Regions from separate parts of the Homo sapiens genome. Here region 2 is linked to region 1. Evidence: promoter capture Hi-C in human tissues and cell types (Jung and others, 2019). All regions are on one chromosome and are shown on one strand. The core of a region is centred on a gene start or on the middle of the fragment in contact, and the rest is flanking DNA. Distances in the headings are between cores, read along the strand shown.

What was found. Contacts are between HindIII fragments. The study calls those that stand out against the background at their distance.
Region 2: a contact is called between the fragment with the promoter of DNAJC5 here and the fragment with the promoter of SLC17A9 in region 1, in 2 of the 25 tissues and cell types used here (spleen and stomach).

Annotation. Positions count from the first base shown.
Region 1 is chr20:62,950,535-62,954,271 of GRCh38, reverse strand. It overlaps SLC17A9 (solute carrier family 17 member 9), which reads right to left and starts at 1,563. Exons shown (of 13, transcript NM_022082.4): 1 at 1,383-1,563. The coding sequence starts at 1,441. RefSeq lists silencers at 1,343-1,442, 1,453-1,772 and an enhancer at 1,324-2,153. The HindIII fragment of the contact is 20,012 bases long and covers 1-3,737 here.
Region 2 is chr20:63,892,834-63,896,499 of GRCh38, reverse strand. DNAJC5 (DnaJ heat shock protein family (Hsp40) member C5) reads right to left here and starts at 1,374. Exons shown (of 5, transcript NM_025219.3): 1 at 1,177-1,374. RefSeq lists a silencer at 1,293-1,532, enhancers at 1,532-2,059, 1,992-2,161 and a cis regulatory region at 2,076. The HindIII fragment of the contact is 9,208 bases long and covers 1-3,666 here.

The sequences.
Region 1 (3,737 bases), core at 314-2,813:
AGGCGTGCGTGTGGCAGCCTTGACCCACAGGCCCCTCCAGAATCCTTGGCGCTACCCAATAAGGGCCTGCAAAGGAAGTTGAAGAGCTGTGGCAAGGGCTCCTTTTTAAACATCGAGCCTGGGAGGGACGTAGTGAAGGCTGCGGCAAGGGCTCCTTTTTAAACATCGAGCCTGGGAGGGACGTAGTGAAGGCTGCGGCAAGGGCTCCTTTTTAAACATCGAGCCTGGGAGGGACGTAGTGAAGGCGGAGCCACTCAAACCAGCCGCCAGTGAGGAGGCCCTGAATCCCTGGGGAGCTGGCCCTGCCCGGCAGGCCTGGATGAACGTGGGTGGGGGAAGAGGAAGAGAGCAAGGGGCAGGGCCCGCTGAGGGCAGCCCTCCCCTCTAATTGGCGCCTGACAGGGCTGTGATCTGGGCTGCCAGCTTTTCCCATGCAGCCAGCGCTCCCTTCATCTGGGTGCCAACATCCGATGGTGGCACTGCCCCTTTGGGCCTTCCTACAACTCTTCCCAGCACTTCTAGGGTCCTCAGCCCTCATACAGCTGGGAACTGGTGGGGCCAGAAGGTGCCATTACCTTGCCATGGTCAGGGTAGGTACCCTGGGGACTCAGTGCAGGCAGGAGACTGCTCTGGAACCCACAGGGCCTGAGTCTAGGCCCAGGGTCCAGCCACTTAAGGCCTCAGCCCAAGACCCAGAGCCAAGGGGTTCAGCAGTGTGGGGGCTGCTCTCAGGAGCTCCCTGGCAGAGGCCCTCCCCAGCTGACCAATGGCCCGCGGTCACCATCTCGCCCGGTTTCTGAGGCGTCACCTGCCCAGGGAGCCTCCTACAGGCAGCAGTGCTGGTGGCCAGGCGACCTGCCCAGGCCCTGCTTCTCCCCACCACCAAATGCTCCGAGAGCTGAAGCCAGCGGGGAGCTCGTCCTCAGCACACAGCTGGCACGTGGTGGCAGGACCCCCCCCAACCCCGTCCAGCTGCAGGCTCCAGCCCGTGCCCCCTACCTGGCCTCCTGACTGTCCTGGCGCCTGCTTGTCAGGGTCATGCATACACAGGGTGGTTCCACCTGGCGAGGGGTATGCCTCCTGACTGTCCAGGACAATGCCCCTGGCCTGGGGAACATAGCCCTGCCTGGAAGAGCCCCAGGAACACTGGCTGGGATAGGGCACTTGCCAGGTCCGGTCCTGGAATCTCATGGCAGGGAGGAAGGACAGGGCACTCACTTCCTTCCACCTCCCACAAGGAACACAGGGGGCCCCACAGCCAGAGGAGCCCGCCCAGCTCAGCCCTCCCCACCTAGCATCGTCCCACGTGGCAGTATCTCAGCTCCCTCCCCACGGCCCCATCTCCACCGCTCCCACCCCCCCTCCCCTCACCCCCGCCACACCTGGACCACTGGGTGTCCCCGGCCATGTCCCTGCGGGCCTCGTCTGGGGGTGGCTGCATCGGGCTTGGGGTGCTCAGACGGCGTGGGCACAGCTGTGTCCCGGGGCTGCCTCCCAGCCCAGGCTGACCCACCCGGGCAGCACCGCCCAAGTCCACGTGTCAGTCCCAGCGCGCTTCCGTCTGGTTCTCTCAGGACTTGTCGCCCCCAGACGGCCACCAGGGCGGGCAGGCGGGGCAGGGCGGGGCATACCACTCGGGTGCCCGCCCCACCCTGCTGACGTCGGTCCCTGCTGCCCCATAGGAGCGGGGCCAACGGTCGCCCTGGCTGGGTCGCCCTGACTGTCCGACGCGCCCTGGCTCAGCCCCAGCAGAGGTTAGTGTGGGGGCAGAGGGGGATTCCCAGCAGCAGGCCGGTCAGACTGGGGCTTCAGAGAAGGGCCCTGGTGGTAAGCCTGGTCCAAGAGGTGCCAGCCCATCCCTTGGACACGACACGGAGCCATGGGGCCGTCTGTCCTCTGTCTATAAAATGGGGAATGATGGCAGTCCCTGCCTTACCGATCAAATAAAATCAGGGATAAAGTCTTAACCAAGTGCAAAGAGAGTAAAAGTACAGGGTCACTGATTTTTAAAATGGATCTTTCGGGGCAGGGATGGGTCCACTCCTGAGCCCTTGGACCAAGCCTGGGAGAGCTGGACAAATCCAGCGCTGGCCCATGTCTTCTCAGCAGATGCCTGTGAAGGTTGTCATTGGCCCCTGGGTTCCTGGACAAAAGGTGTCCTGAGGACCCATCACAGGCCAGGTTCTGGGCTCGGGGGCAGGGGTGACGGGGTGGGGCCCCCACTCTGTGTGCTCCTGCTGCCATGCCAAGGATGAAGCCAGCAGGGGAAGGCCTCAACCATGCAGCCTTTCCCCAGGAGGCGGCAGGGCCTGCTCCTCAGGCGTTGCCCCCACCTCCACTAGGGCCCACCTCAGTCCATCCTCCACGCAGCAGCCACCACCCAGGGGCCGAGGGAGACACGTCTAAGGCAGGGCCTTGCACTTAGAACAGACCCACATTTACCCCCTCCCTCCCCCTAGCCCTCAGGTCTCCAACAGCCCAACCCACTGCACTGCAGGGCCTGCTCCCAGGGCCCTCTGAACAGAAAGACACGGGCACCCTGAAAAGCAAGGTCATACTTTCATCCATCCTGACGTAGGGTAGGTGAAAAGATGGTGGCAGAGAGAGGTTTATTGCCCCAAACAGCCCTAGCCCATAGCCAGGAAGTTTGGAAACTGTTGCTAAACGTATCGCTGTCAACAGCACCCTCTTTGAGGTGATTCGCTTCCATTCACTCTGTGATGGTGATTTCCTACCGAGATCTGTGATCATGCTGCAGCAGACATTTGCCATCTGGTTACCCAAAGTCCCCTTCCTCCTGGAGCTGATGTTCTGGGGCAGGTAGACAAAAATCAAAGTAGTGAAAGGGGTAGGGAAGGGGTGTTACTTCAAATAGGTTGGGCTGAGGAGGCACCCCTGGACACCTGAGTGAAGGCTGGATGAGCTGAAGAAACGGGCCATGCAGGGATGGCTGGGTGGGTGAAGGGGCCATCTCACAGGGACATTATAAAGCTGGGTGCTGGTAGTGGCCAGATGGAGGCTCTCCACGCTTCTGGTGGATTCTGAGAGCTGCCCCGCACCCAAGCATCTTTGAGGCCTAAGGTGAAAAATTATGTAGGGACAATAGACAGTCAACACCTGGGTTTTCAAGGACACAGGGTGACCTTGCGGACAGGGCAGTCACAGCCAGCACCCACTGGCCTCTGCTTCTGGAAGGCTGCGTGCCTCCCTCTTGTTGGGCCTGGCCCACCTAACTTCTTGTTTATTTCAAGTGCTGCTATAGGGAGACGATGCTAGAGATTTTCCTAAAGCAAATCCACACCTCACTACGTATGGCGCCCGTTGCTCAGCCTCTGCATCCACACCCCCCACAGACGCCCCAGGAGACCCCGCACAGCTTCTTGTAAACCAAGACAAGCCAGCCCTGGGCCTGGGGCTCCTCCCTGCACCCCACTTAGCCCTGCAACCTTCCAGCCCAACTACAATTCTCAAGATGAGGAGTCCATGAAAAGGAGACTGACAGATGACACTTTCCTCTGCCATGACTGACAGGCAGCAGCAAGAGGGAAGACCGCGGTACTGGACATCACGTGCGGGAACTGCCTCAAAGGTGGGGGCACCTTTCGGGCTGAGCTAACCCAGTCAACAGCAGACTGGAAAAAGACAAAGAACTGTGTGAGATGGTGCTCAAAACCAGAAAGATGAACTCTGCAATGACGACAAATGGATTCGGTGTGATGTGGGCGTGATACAGAGAA
Region 2 (3,666 bases), core at 125-2,624, 940 kb before region 1:
AGGCTCATTAACACCCTCGCCAGGGGTGTCCCTCAGAGTCCACACAGCCAGCAACCAGAGCGGGCCCCTACAGCTCTCTGCTGGGCCAGACGCCAGCTGGAGCCACCCCGAGTCCTACAGCACCGACACAAGTGAAAGGGGAACTCAACCGAAACTTCCCCAAAGCCCTTAGATCCAGGCTTCTAATTTCATCTCTTGTTTGACAGACTACTCATTCCTGAAACTCAGCTGACATTTTTTTAAAAAGAGAAGCAAATAAACGAACATAAAATCTCAGAAGCTTTGAGTAAACTTTTGCCTTCAGGTAACCATGACAATAGTGGGAGCAATGTAACTGTTTTTGTCATTAGAATAGGTTTTTCTAAACAGGCAAATAAGGGCAGACGTGTCTAACCACCATCAAATCTTCCCAACCAAGCCTAAGCCGGAAAACAAAAATAAAGCTGAAATTTTTGCTTCCTTTTCCTGTATGACACAACTGAATGAATTTGAGAAATCATGGCTTCGGCACACGAAAAAGAGAGTCTTTAATCCAGACACTTAACACCAACAAGTTAGAACCTGAACGGACGAGTTCCTAATACTCTCCTTAAGAGTTCAATATAAAGCATGGCTTCAAATGTTTTTATAAAGCGGAGAAAACAGGTTTTTTCTAACAAACCAAATGCTTTTTGGAATTTACAACGTCGGAAAGATTAATTTACGATGCGTTACAGAACAATTTTCAATTCCCCGAGCTATAAACACAACGACCCAGGGACTAAATTATCTGCCTCCCTAAGACCAGCGATGGCCCAGCTTCTCCAGTCCCCCCGCAGGAGAGGAGACCCCGGGGGGTTGGGGGCGGCCGCGGGGACCTGGGGGAGCGGAGGGGGCGTCCGGGCCCGAAGAGACCCGCGGAGAGCGCCGCCCCAGCCCCCACCACGGTGCTCAGACCCCCGGCCCGGCCCGGCCCGGCTCCCGCAGGCCCCGGCGCCGACCTTCCCGCGCCCCCGCCCCGGCCCAGGCCGCGGCGTCGCAGCAGCTCCGGCCCCGAGCGCCCGCGCAGCCCCGGCCCGGGGGTCGCCGCCATTTCCGGCTCTGGAGTGCCGCCCCCGCCCCCCACCCGCGCCCGCCCGCCCGCCTGCCCGGGCCTGACGTGGGCCGATCCGCCCGCCCGACCCGCAGCGAGCTCACCTGCCCGTCCGCCCGCCCGCCCGCCCTCCCGCCGGCTCCGCGGCTCCGCTCCCCGATTCGCGGCGCTGCTGGGCAGCGGCCGACGCACTCCTCAGCCTGGAGACCCCGGGCGGCGGCGGCGGCGGCGGCAGAGGGCGCGGGTGCGGCACCGGCAGCGGCAGCGGCAGCGGCAGCGGAGACGAGCACGCTCACGCACGCACCCGCACCGGCGCGCGCGCTCCCGGAAGGACGTGGGCTCCGGCGTGTCGGAGCCGCGGGTGGGACCGGCTGCGCATGCGCTCAGAGAGCCGAGCGGAGGCTCCGTCCATGAAGGGGCGGAGTCCCGAGTGACAGCCCGGGGCCGAGGCGCCCTGTGGAGGCTCCGCCCATGAGTGGGCGGGGACGAAGCGCGGGGGCGGAGCCAGTCCTCCCAGTCTTCAGGTGGCCGCAGGTGGGTCCCGGGTGGACACGCCATGTGCTGCGGGGAACCGCGCAGAAAGAGAAGCGCAGGGCTTGCTGGTCTTGCAGGTGAGTTTACTCAGCGCTTTAAGTAAGACTGAGAAAACGTAATCGTTCTCATCAAAGAACTGAACAGGGAGCTGGTGGGAGACGGCTGCGGACCGTCGCCCCCGCCCCCACCCGGAGCCACCGTCCTGGGACTGACATTTGCTCAACCCTGGAGCGCCGAGATGGGACGTCCTTCCTTCCTTCCTGTCCAACCACTGAAATGCCGTCGCCAGCGCCCTCCCACCCTCCCGGAATCATCTCCAAACAGCAGCGTGGAGAGGCAGGACCACGAACGTCCACTCCACCTCCCTCTGCCCTTGCCCATCCCGTCGGCCACCCTTCCCTGTCCCTGTAACTGCAGGCGCTCCGCCACTCACTGACGGCCTGCCCCGCGTAGGCTGCCTGGGCCACTTCCCATCCTAGAAGCTCCCAGACCTCTGCGGCCGGTGCTCCTGCCTCCTCGCTTCCACCCTTGCCCGTTTACCTGAGTTCAGTGCGGTCATCTTTTTAAAACAAACCCAGTAGCATCCAAGGCTTCCCGTGACACACTGCGTGAAACCCAAATTCTCTCTCAACACGCTCTGGCCTCCTTCCTCTGCCCTCATAACTCACTGCCATAATGCCGGTCTTGAATTGCCAAGCTTGTTCCAGTCTCACAGCCTGGAAGTGTCAGAGCTTGGGAAGCCTCCTAGCAGTCATTAAGCTGCGCAACATCAAGCAGGCAGCAAGAAAAGGCCTATGGAACCCAAGAAGCAGAAAGGCCAGGTTCATATCTACAACTATAGATTCCAAGAGAATGAAATATTTCAGGCCAGAATTGGAGGGATGAGAGAATGAAATGGGCCTGGTACCGATCTCAGATTGAAGCTATATTCCACTTGTGCTGGGAGCTGCAAGAATGAATGAACCAGCCTTAAGTGAGTCCCTCTGAGACCTAGCAGTTCCACTTTAGGGACATTCTTCCAAAGAAAATATTCCTAAATACAGAAAAAGGTATATGCACTGAAATATTCATGAAGGCACTATTTTTAATAGCGAGAATGGAAACCTGCCCAACTGCACAAGTGAGCACTCAAATGGAATAATATAGTTACTGAAATGTATACAACGGGACCCATGGCTCACGCCTGGAATCTCAGCACTTTGGTAGACCAAGGCAGGAAGATCACTGGAGCCCAGGAGTTTGAGACCTGCCTGGACAACATAGTGAGACCACCATCTCTATAAAAAAAAATTTTTTTAATTGGCCCGGCCACAGTGGCATGCATGCCCCTGTAGTCCCAGCTACTCAGGAGGCTGGATCGGGTGGGAAGTCAAGGCTGTAGTGAGCCATGATTGTGCCACTGCATTCCTGCCTGGGTGACAGAGCAAGACCCCATCTCTTATTTAAAAAGAAGAAAAAAAGAAAGATAATGTGTAGAAAGGCTACACAGGAGCAAAGAACTCCTGAAACTAAAATGAGCACGATGCATGATATGTAAAAAGTATATTATCACACATATATCTATCCATGAACATTCCAGCCTGCTTGGAGAAAATAAGACAGGAAGGTACGCCCGGGCACAGTGGCTCACACCTGTAATCCCAGCACTTTGGGAGGCCGGGGTGGGCGGATCACCTGAGGTCAGGCGTTCAAGACCAGCCTGGCCAACATGGCAAAACCCTGTCTCTACTAAAAATACAAAAATTAGCTGGGCGTGGTGGCATGCCCCTGTAAATCCCATCTGCTCGCGAGGCTGAGGCAGGAGCATCGCTTGAGCCCAGGAGGTGGAGGTTGCAGTGAGCTGAGATTGCACCACTGCACTCCAGCCTGAGCGACAGAGTGAGACCCTGTCTCAAAAAAAAAAAAGAAGACAGGAAAGTTGACAGTGGCTACAGTTGGGAAGAGTCTGATGTTTACCTCTGATACATCAGGCCCTGTGCTAAGTGCTTTATAAGGTTAAGCCTTTCAATATGATGAGGCAGATACCATTACCCTCACTCTGAGAAGAGGGGACTGAGCCT